Linked DNA regions of Homo sapiens: region 1 is linked to region 2. Evidence: promoter capture Hi-C in human tissues and cell types (Jung and others, 2019). All regions are on one chromosome and are shown on one strand. Each heading gives the region's core, a stretch centred on a gene start or on the middle of the fragment in contact. The rest is flanking DNA. Distances are from core to core; before and after follow the strand shown. Region 1 overlaps USP36 (ubiquitin specific peptidase 36). Region 2 holds the start of LGALS3BP (galectin 3 binding protein).

Evidence for each region. The method cuts DNA at HindIII sites, captures the fragments that hold promoters and counts their contacts. A contact is called where the count stands out against the background at its distance.
Region 1: a fragment that was not itself captured here is called in contact with the fragment with the promoter of LGALS3BP in region 2 in 1 of the 25 tissues and cell types used here (spleen).

What each region holds. Positions count from the first base shown.
Region 1 is chr17:78,797,715-78,804,810 of GRCh38, forward strand. It overlaps USP36 (ubiquitin specific peptidase 36), which reads right to left. Exons shown (of 21, transcript NM_001385174.1): 16 at 5,671-6,264; 17 at 4,610-4,821; 18 at 1,953-2,054; 19 at 1,194-1,309; 20 at 686-837; 21 at 1-165. The coding sequence ends at 706. Among named protein-coding and RNA genes, the nearest start is that of CYTH1, 19 kb to the left of the region's middle. The HindIII fragment of the contact is 3,600 bases long and covers 1-3,400 here.
Region 2 is chr17:78,978,165-78,984,909 of GRCh38, forward strand. LGALS3BP (galectin 3 binding protein) reads right to left here and starts at 1,759. Exons shown (of 6, transcript NM_005567.4): 1 at 1,660-1,759. RefSeq lists an enhancer at 1,793-2,785. The HindIII fragment of the contact is 8,620 bases long and covers 1-6,745 here.

The sequences.
Region 1 (7,096 bases), core at 351-2,850, 180 kb before region 2:
TCCGATCTAGAGAAGCCTCAAAGCCTCTGTGTTGGGCGGTCTGTGGACACTGGTACCGGGAGAGCTCCTACCGTGACAGGCTCCCAGCGCAGCAGAGCCCACACAGAGAGCTCCCTCAGATCCAGACCGACAGCTCCCGGGAAGGGACGCCTTGTCTCCAGGAGGCTGCAGAACAAACCACGGTAGTCCTGACAGAGAGAAACGAGACCCGAATCTTCCCACTGCCACCCTCGGGTATGAGTCCAACCTAGGAACCCAATGCATGGCATCTCGATGCGGCTGGCAAGAAGTCACCCTTCTGCAAGTGACTGGGACACATGCCAGATATACACACAACCCACATCCCACACACACCCCACACATGCCCTTCTCCAAGTGACCAGAACACATGCCACAGATGCCAGGTGTACACACCCCACACCCAACACACACTACACACACCCCCTTATACACACGCATCCCACACACACCCCCTTATACACACGCATCCCACACACACCCTTCTCCAAGTGACTAGGACACACACCACAGACGCGCCCACACCACACACACCACCCAACACACATGTGCCAGATACACAGCCCACATACATCATACACACACGCCACACCCCACCACACCCCTACACACATACACGGCACACACACCCCCACCTCACCCTTACACCCACCCCCTCGGAACCGACCTCCTTCCACAGGGGCACAGTCAGCGGCGATAGCTGAGGCTGGCAGCCTTTGCTGGGTGAGTCACAGACCAGAAGTTCCGTCGAGTCTGAAGTTTCTGGAAGGCGTTGAAGTTTCTCCTCTTCTCTCTCTTAAATTTTTTAATTTTCTTTTCCTAGACCAAGAATCACAGGCATCACAGTTCCCAAAAACGGCTCTTTCCTGGCCCACGGGGCTCCATGCTGCATGCAGGTCCTGCACACAGGCCGGGCTCTCATGAGCTCTCTGGAGACCCACTCTTCACAATGACCCCTGTGCACGGCGACCTGCAGTCCCCCTATTGACAAAGGGGCGGAAGCTGCGAGGATGCATGCCCTGTCCATGGCCACACGCCCGGACAGGCCTGGGCAGCCTGGCTCTTCTCATGCTCGGCCGCTTCATGCCACTGCCGCCACCTCCAACTGCCCCGGCTCTGAGCTGAGCCACGCCGCCCTGCTCCCTCAAGCCTGTGGTCAGCATCACACATCATACCTTCCCTCGGTCAAACTCTTCGTCCCAGTCATCAACCACGGTCTCAGTCCGGGCCTGTCTGCTGTCTTCAATAGCATCCTGACTGACCGCCGACATCTTGCCATCCCAGGTCAGAACTACCAGGCAGACACGGGGGTCAGCACGAGTGCAGGTTCCCAGGTCCCCTGTGGCTTCACTTCAAGAGTGTCATTTACCAACTAGTCTACTCATAATTAGTCAACAATTTTGAGTGCCACCTTGTGGTGAAGAGAAGGACAAGAGGAGGACGGCTCGACGCCCATGTGTGGTCGGTCAGCATGGAACCCCCAGCGATGCCCTCTTAGCTAAACCCTAAACCACAGCCAAAGAGTTCAGTTCTTTCTAAACCCATGCCCTCGTCTGAGGAACAAAGATGTCATGTTTGGTCTCGAAGTCTGAATAAAAACATGCTCTGAGCAAGAAGTGACATTACCCAGGTTGGAAGAGCTTCGTCACTCTGCCCCTTCCCTACCCAAGACACAGCATGTGTGGGGCTCCTCACCCTGCCCCAACCCTCAGAAGCAGCTGTTCTGGATCCTGCCACGGACAGAAGCCACCTTCGTGCCACGGCTGAGGGTTTAAAGAGGACTCCAGCCAGTGTTGAGATTCCTCTTCCCATTCTCAAAGCCGAGCGATGCCCGCCCGCCACACTCACAGTGCACCAGGATCCATTCCACACCCTTCCCTCCTACAAAACCAACCAATGAAAGGCAAACAGAAGTCCTGTCTCCAAATCAGTACCTTTTCTCCCGTAAGCTTTATCAGATGAGTATTTGAGCAGTTCCTGGACCACATCAGACTCCCGCTCTCCATTCCAAGACACAGGAGGGGCCTGGCTCAGCCCTGCAATCGGAGCAGCCAAGAAACATTTACAGACGTTTAAAATAACCCACTGGGGAAGCAATCGCACACCTTAAATTATAAAACAACTTACAGTAAGTGGATGCTTGCCTTTTTTTTTTTTTTTTTTTTTTTTTTTTAAAGACAGGGTCTCACTATGTTTCCTAGGTTGGTCTCAAACTCCTTGGGACTCCCACTGGCCTCCCAAGGTGCTGGGATTACAGGCATGAGCCATGGCGCCCAGCCTAAATGCTTATTTACTAATGCTTACATGCTTAATTTACTAATGACCTGACACAATAGAGAAGGCTGTTGTCCAAGTCAATTCATGAGAAAGAAAACATGGAAAATAACAAAAAGCTAAAAACCAAAAAAAAAAAAACCCTCCAAAACCCCTTTAACCAGTAGTGTTAAGTCCTCAGTCTGACAGAAGGAGAGAAGAGAACTAGATCTAAATGGAATCCACCTCACCTACGGGAGAGGCCCATGCCCCAGGACCAGCCTGACACCTGGATGGCCACAGGGGTGGAGGGAACGGCCAAGCTTGGCTGCTGCCATCAGGGGCCCGACCTCCTAAGCCCTGTCCAGGGGGAACCTGGTCCCCATCAGCAACACCGCACAGGTCCACCCAGCACCTCGGGACCAGGACAGCACTCACCACCCTCATCGGGTTCTAGAAACCCTTTCTGAACTCGTCCTCTGCCCAGCTAGCCACATAGCCCCTGGAATATACTCACCTCCCTTCACACAAATCTGACCTCATTTCTCCCTGCCTCCAATTCCTCAGTGAGCTCCAGGCTAAGTGTCCCCTGCCCCCACACAGTGGCTTCCATGGTTCCCATCTCATCCACACAGCCCAGGGACCCGGCCATGCAGAGCAGCCTGCCTGCTCCCAACGTGCTGCGCCTCCTGCCCTTGGGTCTGGTGCCCTGCCCATTTAGCCACTCTCCTCAGGTGCACAGGACTGCAAGAGCCCATGCGGCCCCCAGCGCCTCCTTGCTGAGCATGAGCCCTTACTGTGTGGTTCTGGCTCTGCCAGGGAGCCCCGAGGGCCCAGGGCGCACTTCAGTAGACACAACCAGCACCTGGCATGGACCCTGGCGCACCGCAAGTGCTCAAGTGATGTCCCTTGCACTAACAAGCCAACTCCACTTCGCTCCGAGGGTGGCACGGAGCACAGCTCTGGTGCCATGTTAGGGCAGTATTTTTTTTTTTTTTTTTTTTTTTTTGAGACGGAGTCTCACTCTGTCACCCAGGCTGGAGTGCAGTGGCGCAATCTCGGCTCACTGCAAGCTCCGCCTCCTGGGTTCACACCATTCTCCTGCCTCAGCCTCCCGAGTAGCTGGGACTAGAGGCGCCCGCCACCATGCCTGGCTAACTTTTTGTATTTTTAGTAGAGACGGGGTTTCACCGTGTCAGCCAGGATGGTCTCGATCTCCTAACCTTGTGATCCGCCCGCCTCGGCCTCCCAAAGTGTTGGGATTACAGGCGTGAGCCACCACCCCCGGCCAGGGCAGTACTTCTGAGAGCATGCTGGCCAGCAAACTCAGTCGGCACTAGCTAGCACCCACGTTTTGCTATTTATTTCATACCATTTCATTTTTAACGATAAATTCCTTTCTTAAGAGTTGGATAAATACAAATCAGTCTCTAAGGTCCTGCTGACCCCCAGATGCACTGCCATAATCAGACCTTCCAGACTGCAGAGGAGGCCTCACTCAAGCTCGGCCCCCTATACCAAGCAGCCAGGACTTTCTCTCCCCTTCACTTAACAAATGTGTTCTGTGGCGGGTGCCTGCCAAGGCATGCCCCAGCCAGCCCTAAAGAAAACAAAACACCCTCCGATTGAGGGGTGGTGCCCAAGGACAGCCACAGCACACAGGTCCCCAACAGCAAGCAAACCGTGCTATGTTCTGAATGGCCCAGCTACATAGAGGGAGAGGAGGATTCACTTTTGAACCCAACTCTTCTAAATTCAACCATCACAGAAAAAAACTCAGGCTGGGAGTTCAGGGAGTCATTCCGTGAGAAGCTGTAGACAGAACAGCTTTGAATCGGAAGACCCACTGGCATTCACAGAATGTTTTAAAGTTCATGTGCACTGTAACCTCTCTCATGGGGCTGTTTCAGTCAAATGCTGTGACACATGAGGAAGCTTCAACCCCATCACCCAAGGGAGCAGACTCGGGGGTGGGGGGTGAAGGTTGGTAGGGTCCCAGGGCCCTCCACATCTTCTCCCAGACCCTCCCAAGCTCAGATGCAGTAGACGCTGCTCTCAGCCTGTGCACTCCCCAATACCCCCTCACCCGGTGCACACCCACGCGGTCCCCCACCCCCTTGCCCGGTGCACACCCACGCGGTCCCCCAACCCCTCGCCTGGTGCACACCCACGCGGTCCCCCACCCCCTCGCCCGGTGCACACCCACGCGGTCCAACCCCTCGCCCAGTGCACGCCCATGCGGTCCCCCAACCCCTCGCCCGGTGCACACCCATGCGGTCCCCCAACCCCTCGCCCGGTGCACACCCATGCGGTTCCCACCCCCTCGCCCGGTGCATACCCATGCGGTCCCCAGGACACCAGCCATTCGCGGATGGTGCGCAGCTGCTGGACTCGGGGACAACAGCATCTTGGGGCTTGGCACTCCTTGGGCATTTGAGATGCCCATCCTCTTCTACTGCCCGCTGTGTCTCCTGCTTTCTTTTTTTCTTTTTCTTTTTCCTTGGAGACTCTTCCATGGCCTCTGGATCACCATCACCCATGGGAGAGCAGCTGCTTGGAAGTGAGAGGCAGCAGTCAGCTCTGAGCAAATTGGAAGGGGAGCAGGAGCGCACAGACACCCGCCTGCAACATGGAGAAGGTGCCACCCCAGCTGTGACCCAGTGCACGCAGGTCCCTGCAACATTCTTCCCCCCACACGCATTAGCGGACGCTCCACACGCAGCCACGGAGACAGTAGAGGGAAAACCAGTCGCGTTTCCCATCCTAACTGAGCCAAGCCTGTTGACGCCAATGTGCAGGCTACTGTGACCTGATGAAACGGCAGATCCTGGCCTGGCCCGGGACACCTGATCCAGCATCCTTGAACGGCCCTGCACATACAATGATGGACACTACTGTCCACACCACTGTCGCTTCAAGGATCAATCCACTGGTATTTATCAGAGGAGATATTTTTTCTTTTTTCTTTTTTTTTAGACAGGGTTTAGCTGTCACCCAGGCTGTAGTGCAGTGACGCGATCTCAGCTCACTGCAACCTCCACCTCCTGGGCTCAAACCATCCTCCCACCTCAGCCTCCTGAGTAGCTGGGACTATAGGTGCATGCCACCATGCCCAACCAATTTTTGTTTTTGGTAGAGAAAGGGCTTTTCCATATTGCCTAGGCTGGTCTCAAACTCCTGGGTTGAAGTGATCCACCCGCCTCAGCCTCCCAAAGTGCTAGGATTACAGGTGTGAGCCACCACACCCAGCCAGAGGAGACATCTGATCACAAATCCACATTTTAGAAAACCACGCAAGCAGACTACGTTTCCAGACCATACCTACTTGGGGGTAGATTCTGTGGTTTTGCTTTGTTTCTCGTCAGAGGTAGACAGATGCCACTTTGCTCCTGCCCTTACCTGTGCCGAAGTGGGTCCTGGTGCAGGCCGCCTTCTTCACCAAGACCTTCTGCTCCTTTCCTCCTCCGCTTCCTGCTGCTCGCGTGGTGGCCGTCCGTAACACATCCCACCTGCTGGCCATTCACCTGTGGCTGTGTGCCATCTTCCTGCCGTCTGACAGCGGGCAGCTGTGCCTGGCCCTCCCTCCTGTACATGGGGCTCCCAGGCTGTCTCTGTGTCTGCCCCTCCTGCAGGGCGCTGGCAGCTGTGTCCTCCGGGCGCTTCTTCTTCTTCCTCTTCCTCTTCCCGTGGGGAGCCGCAGTGGCCTCCCTGATGTGCTGTGGGAGGCGCGTCTCTGAGCCCAGCCTCTGCGGCTCTCCCACAAAGGTCTTTTTCCTCTTCTCAGAGGGGCTCTGGGGGGGCTCACTGGCCTCTGGCAACTGGTGTGGAAGAGACACAAGGTCCTCGTTGACCTGAGGCAGCGCCGTCGAGATGGAGGAGCAGCTCCGTGGTTCTGACGTCCCTGGGGGCTTGGGGGTACTGGACAGCAATGTGGGGTGGGGGCTGAAGGGGGGTTGCAGGCGGCTGGATGATTGGGGAGCAGGTGACACAGCCCTGTGGGGACAGCCAGGAAACAGGGAGAGGATGTTCTGAAAGACCCAGCAGAGCTGTTCCTTCTGTCTACCCTCACTCCCCTCCCTTTCACCTAAAAATCTGAAAAGGCTTTTACCCTGTAGTTTTCAGATACACATTAAGTTACATGTATGTTTGAAAGAAAGCTAACAATTAATTCAACATCTATTTAAATGCAAAGTTGGCCAGGTACAGTGGCTCATGCCTATAATTCCAGCACTTTGGGAAGCCAAGGTGGCTGGATCACCTGAGGTCAGAAGTTTGAGACCAGCCTAGCCAACATGGTGAAACCCCATCTCTACTAAAAATACAAAATTAGCCGGGCGTGGTGGCACACGCCTGTAATCTCAGCTAGTCAGGAGACTGAGGCAGGAGAATCGCTTGAACCTGGGAGGTGGAGGTTGCAGTGAGCCGAATCGCGCCACTGCACTCCAGCCTGGGCGACAAAGCAAGACTCCGTCTCAAAAAAAAAAAAAACCAAAAAAACAAAAACAAAAACAAAAAAAAAAAAACAAAGTTACCTAGGTGGTGGGTTGATAGGTGCAGCAAACCACCATGGCACCTCTGTAACAAACCTTTACATCCTGCACATGTACCCTGGAACTTAAAATAACTGATCCCTGAGATTTAAAAAAAAAAAAAAAAAAAAAAAAAAAAGCAAGCCAACACGTGATTTTAAAAGTCAAAAAAAAAATTTTTTTTTTTTTAAAAGGCAAAGTTAATAAGAATTGTTCCATGCCTTAGTTTCTTGTCACCAAGCAATTCAAGTATTTTTGCGAGCTCTAATGTAAAAACATCTTTAATACAAATGTGT
Region 2 (6,745 bases), core at 509-3,008:
GACCTTGAGGCTGCTTGGAGGGGGCCTGGTGGACGGCTGCAATGGCATCCCCAGAGCTTGTCGGAAATGCAGTCATGGCTGGCCTTGCCCTAGCCCCTCTGCATGGGAGTCTGCATGAACAAGCGCCCTGGGAGCTGGGTGCACTGGCTGGTGAGCAGCTTTGCTCTGGGACTCGTGCTCGCTGGCACTGTGCAGCCACCCCTTGTCGGGGCTCCCCGGGCACCACTGGAGGCCTTACCGTGACCCTGAGAACCACCTTAGTTACACCTCACCTTACAAGTGAATGAGCTGACACCCAGAGAGGCAAATGGGCTCCACATCCACAGTCAGTGAGCCACAGGCAGGGGGTCTGCTCGGGGGAGCCCACCTCTCCTCCCTGTGTCAATGTCAGTAGATGGCTAAAGGGGCCAGGGTGTGACCGCCTGTCCTGTGTGCTGGGGACTGTGCTGGTTTTAGCACTGAAGTTTCCCTGTGTCCTGGGAAACCCCTCAGTCCCAGGCACGCCGGTATGGGTGGACGCCCTCTCCACTTCTGCCCCCAGCCACTTCACTCTGCTGCAGCCACTAGGTTTGTCCGTCCTGGGAGAGTAACTCAGGGCCTTGGAAAAATGGCCAACTGGCCAGGCGCGATGGCTCACGCCTGTAATCCCAGAACTTTGGGAGGCTGGGGCAGGTGGATCACTTGAGGTCAGGAGTTCAAGACCAGCCTGGCCAACATGGTGAAACCCCGGCTCTACTAAAAATACAAAATAATAATAATAATAAGCTGGGCATGGTGGTGTGCACCTGTAGTCCCAGCTACTCAGGAGGCTGAGGCAACAGAATTGCTTGAATCCGGCAGGCAGAGATTGTAGTGAGCCGCTGCACTCCAGCCTGGGTGACAGAGCAAGACTCTGTCTCAAAAAAAAAAGGGGGGGGGGCAACGAAGCACCTGGCAGGTGGCGTCGCTGCCCTTTGTGTGGCAGCGGCTATTTTTGCCTGATTCCTTCATACAGTTGAGACCCGGCTGCCTGTGTTGGCCCCTTCGTGCAAATCAGAAAAAAAGGTGCTCTTCCTTGGAGTGGGTGCAGGCCTAGGCCAAATGCACAGGTCTGAGAGAGGGCCAAGCTGAATTCTAACCCACTTGCCCTTTGGCTGGTATCCTTGTGCAGTGAGTAATCTGCCCAACTGTACACAGAGGCCCTGTGGGCCTGGGAGCAGCAATGATTGTTGCTGGACTCAGGAGCCCTGGATCCCCAGCTCCAGGCCTATGTGCAAACAGGGAGGCATGACCCCCACTTGCCTGTGTAGAGAGAGGGGTGCCCTGGCCGGGCGCGGTGGCTCACACCTGTAATCCCTACACTTTGGGAGGCCGAGGCGGGTGGATCACCAGAGGTCAGGAGTTTGAGACCAGCCTGGCCAAGATGGCGAAACCCTGTCTCTACTAAAAATACAAAAATTAGCTGGGCGTGGTGGCACGCGCCTGTAATCCCAGCTACTTGGGAGGCCGAGGCAGGAGAATCGTTTGAACCCAGGAGGCAGAGGCTGCAGTGAGCGGACATTGCATCACTGTACTCCAGCCTGGGTGACAGAGTGAGACCCTGTCTCAAAAAAAATAAAAATAAAAAAGAGAGAGAGACTGAGAGGGGTGCCCACCTGAGAGCTAGAGGCAGGAGCTTACCTGGCTGCGGTAGCTGCAACGGCCGTGTGGAGCCTCCTCGCTTCCAGCCACAGGATCCCTCTGCAGACTGGTCCTTTGACCCAGAAGCCTCTCCCAGTATGGAGCGTGGTCAGGCTGATCCCAGGAAATGCTTCAGAAAAGAGTCTACTTTCGATTTCCAGAAACCACCTGACATAGATGTCTTCCGGGATTGGCTGCTGCTGATACTCCCCAGGGCCCCTCTCTTTTGTCTCAGCTCTGCCTGTGGCTATCAGTGCCAGGCTGGCAGAGGCCCAAGGTGGGAGTCTGGCTGGAGCAAGGCCTGCAAGAGGACTAACAGCCACACTCAGTTGGAAAGGCCGCCAGGCTGGTCAGGGGCTGGCGTTTGGTGGACGGGAGGGGAAGAAGCAGAGGCTCTGGGCCCAGACAGTCTGCACCTGGTGGTGTGGCTGTGGACTCTGACAGAGCGCTCCGAGTCTTTTCCTGGGTCTAGCACGTTGCTGGCTGGGTGAACACCACACAGGGGGCTGCTTATGTGCAAATCCACCCTCTCTGTGCTCTTGGCATGCTGACCACACAGAGGGCCTGTGCCCCACAAGGTTGCATGGCACTGTCCCCTGTCCCCAGGGGAGGGAGGCACTGAGAACCAGGTATGCAGCTGGCCAGTGGAGGAGCTGGACCCTGCTCCAACACCTGACCCCAGAGCCTGTGCTCGCCACTGCTGGACCTGTGGCCACTCTCCTACTGTCTCCCCCTCAGCGGGGCGGGGGACAGAGCCTCTCTGGGTGACATAATGGCTCTGTCCAGCTCATACCCATTCCCTTTCCTCCCACTGAAAGCCGGCACCTCAACTGTCCCTTGGGGAGCACCCCCTCCCATTCCCGGCTGTGTGGTTCCCAGAGGGCCCCCAGCTCTTGGCCTTCAACCACCCAAGGCCTGGCTGTCTGAGCCCTGCGGGGGCCCCGGGCCACACTGCTGGTTTCAGGGTGGGGCTGTGAGCCCAGCCAGCCGGTGAGAGCCAGCTTCTGACTGAGAGGATGTGGGCCCAGGCTGCTGGGGCCGGTGGGGCAGAGCAGAGGGAAGCAGGCATCCTCCGGCCTGAGCTCCTGGGTCCAGCTGGCCTAATCCATGGTCAAGGCTGGGCTTCACCGCTCAGTGAGGCAATCAGCAGCCGCTCTTGTTTCTGTCACTTGCACCCCATGGTTCTGGATGAGCCTTGGGATGTGCCCAGGCCTCTGACCAGTGGTTCTCAGCCTGGGCTGGACAGAAGAATCATCAGGGAGTTTTACAAACTCCTAATGCCTAGACCCAGGAAGTCACCATCTCTGGGAGTAGGGGACAGGCAGGGGCATTTAAAAGCCCCCAGGCAGTCCCACTGGGTGGAAGGCCCTGGTTCCCTGGCAGCTTAGAGTCCGAGACAGCCAGCCCAGAGGTCAGACATTCAATGACTATTTCCTTCAAGGTGTGAGGTTTTAGGCAGCTGCACGGTTTGCCTAATCCCCTCCAGAGGAACTGTGAAGATCCAGGGGCAGGTGCAGCTGGAAATAGAACTGGCTGTGGGGAGTTTAAAAAAATCTCATCTGGATTAAGGGCCTGAGTGCACAGAAACCCCAGCATCATCCCTTCTCAGCAGTGCTAATGACTTCTGCCCAAGTGGCCAGGGAAGGACAGGAGTGCAGAGGACGGGAGGGCATCTCTGGGAAGTGCTGGGAAAGGTTTTAAAACTCAGGTGCCGAATCTTTAGCCCCAGAGTCCGGGAAAGTCCTAAGCCATCCAGGCAGGTAAAATGGAAAACCCAGAGGCCTCCTCGTGGAATCGGAGCACCAACATCTGCTCCCCTGGGGCTCGCAAGGCCTTTCCGGTGTGCGATGACCATGGGGTGGAGGGAAGCGCTGACAGGGGACAGGCAGGGGAAGGGGCAGCGGCTCGGCTCTGAGAAGACAGCTGGGTGAAAGCCTCAGATTCGTGTGGACAGAACTGCTGTCATCAGGAAGCCGCTCCCAAGACATGGTAGGGAAAGTGCGGGGCATTTCAGAGATGAGAATGGTTAACTGGCCTGTAAGGTCATCTTTTGTGCCTCTACCCCAAACCTCTCCGCAAATTGAGGAACGCTCCCTATAATAGCTAATATGGATTTCGCCAGGCATTACTATAAGCCTTGCCACAAATGAATGCATTTAATACTTCCAGCCATGATGGGAAGCAGCTGCTCTTATATTCCCTGTTACAGATGAGAAAACAGAGGCTCAGTGAGGCGACGTAATCGGCTAAAGTTGTGCAGCTGGTAGGGGAAGAACTGGGGTTTCAAACCCATCCTTTCCTTCTTTTTAAAAATTGGCTTTCTTGGCATATAATTTACGTGCAAAGTTTTGGCAAATGTGTAGCGATGGTATCATGACAACAATCATTACCTAGGGCGTTTCAATCACCCCTAAGAATTCTCTTATGCCCCTCTGCAGCCACCCCTCCCCCCAGCCCCTTCCCAGCAACCACCTCTCAGCTTCTGCCACTGCTGGTTGCCTTTCCTAGAATTCCCTCTATTTTGTCTTCTTTTTTAAGACACAGTCTCCCTCCATTGCCCAGGCTGGAGTGCAGTGGAACAATCTCGGCTCACTGCAATCTCTGCCTCTCAGGTCCAAGTGATTCTCCTGCCTCGGCCTCCCGAGTAGCTGGGATTACAGGTGCGCCCACCACCACGCCCAGCTAATTTTTGTATTTTTAGTAGAGAAGGGGTTTCTCCACATTGGCCAGGCTGGCCTCGAACCCCTGAACTCAGGTGATCCGCCTGCCTCTGCCTCCCAAAGTGCTGGGATTACAGGCATGAGGCACCACTCCTGGACCCTAGAATTCCCTCTAAATGGAATCATACAGTATTTAATATTTTGCATGTGGCTTCTTTTACTTACCACAGTGCTTCTGAGATCCATCCATGCTATCTCAACAATCAGTAACTGGCTCCTGGTTTTGCTGGGTGGCGGCCCACTGTATGGACAGAACACCACTGTTAATACATGTTTGCACTGATGGACATTTGGGTCATTCCATCTTCCACTATTATGCATAAAGCTGCTGGAAACATTTGGATACAAGTCTTTGTGTGAAAATAAGTATTTATTTTGTGTAAATACCTAGGAGCAGGATTACTGGGTCATATGGTAGATATATGTTTACCTTTTTAAGAAACTACCCAGCACTTCAGGAGGCTGAGGTGGGTAGATCACGAGGTCAGGAGTTCAAGACCAGCCTGGTCAAGATGGTGAAACCCCGTGTCTACAAAAAAATACAAAAATTAGCCAAACATGGTGGTAGGCGCCTGTAATCCCAGCTATTCGGGAGGCTGAGGCAGGAGAATCGCTTGAACCCAGGAGGCAGAGGTTGCAGTGAGCCGAGATCACACCACGGTACTCCAGCCTGGGCAACAGAGCGAGATGCCGTCTCAAAAAAAAAAAAAAGAAAAGAAACTGTTTTCCAAAGTTGCTGAAACATTTTGCATTCTTGCTAGTAATTTCTTCATGTTCCAGTGGTTTAAATCGTCACCAATACTTGGTATTGTCAGTCTTTAAATTTCATCCATTCTGGTGGGCATGTAGTGAAGTTTCATTGTGGTTATAATGACGAATGATAGGCCGGGTGCTGTGGCTCACGCCTGTAATCCCAGCACTTTGGGAAGCTGAGGTGGGCAGATCACCTGAGGTCAGGAGTTTGAGACTAGCCTGATCAACATGGAGAAACCCCATCTCAACTAAAAAATACAAAAAAATTAGCCGGGCGTGGTGGCGCATGCCTGTAATCCCAGCTACTTGGCAGGCTGAGGCAGGAGAATCACTAGAACCTGGAAGGCAGAGGTTGCAGTGAGCCGAGATCGTGCCATTGCACTCCAGCCTGGGCAACAAGAGTGAAACTCCGTCTCAAAAAAACAGAAAAAAAAAAAAAAGACGAATGATGTTGAGCATCTTTATGCTTCTCTGTCATTCACACATCCTCTTTGGCAAAGCGTCTGTTCAAATCTTATGCACGTTTGAAAACTGGCTTGTTTGTTGTGTAAGTTCTTTATATATATTCTGTTCCTGTAGCAGATATATGATTTGCACTTTTATTTTTAATGAAAAGCTTGCTTTTCATTATCTTTTTTTTTTTTTCTTTTTTTTGAGACAGAGTCTCGTTCTGTCGCCCAGGCTGGAGTGCAGTGGTGCGATCTCGGCTCATTGCAAGCTCCGCCTCCCGGGTTCAAGCCATTCTCTTGCCTCAGCCTCCCGAGTAGCTGGGACTACAGGCGCCCGCCACCATGCCGGCTAATTTTTTGTATTTTTTTAAGTAGAGACGGGGTTTCACCATGTTGGCCAGGATGTTCTCGATCTCTTGACCTCGTGATCCACCCACCTCCGCCCCACAAAGTGCTGGGATTATAGGCGTGAGCCACCACGCCTGGTGAGCAGAGGGTGACTGAATAGAATGGGAGGCAGGATGGCCCTAATCAGTCCCAGCTTGACTTTTCCCTTTAGCTGGTGATTTTGGGGCCCAAGATATTTTCCTTTCACAACTCTGTTCTCTGTGGGAACAAATGACTTCAACTTTAAGGCAGGAGAATGGTGTGCACCCGGCAGGCAGAGGTTGCAGTGAGCCGAGATTGCGCCACTGCACTCCAGCCAGGGCGACAGAGAGAGACTCCGTCAAAAGAAAAAAAAAAGAATGTATCCATTTGTCTCTCATCTACCTGTGACCTGGAAGCCCCCTCCCCACTTGGAGTTGTCCTGCCTTTCCAGACTGAACCAATGTTCATTTTACATGTGTTGATTGATGTCTTATATCTCCCTAAAATGTATAAAACCAAGCTGTGCCCTGACCACCTTGGGCACACACTGCCAGGCCCTCCTGAGGCTGTGTCAGGGGCGCCCACGTCCTCAACCTTGGCAAAATAAACTCTAAATTAACTGAGCCCGGCTGGGCGCGGTGGCTCACGCCTGTAATCCCAGCACTTTGGGAGGGTGAGGAGGGCAGATCACTTGAGGTCAGGAGTTCAAGACCCGCCTGGCCAACATGGTGAAACCCCATCAATACCGAAAATATAAAAAATGAGCTGGGTGTGGTGGTGCACACCTGTAATCCC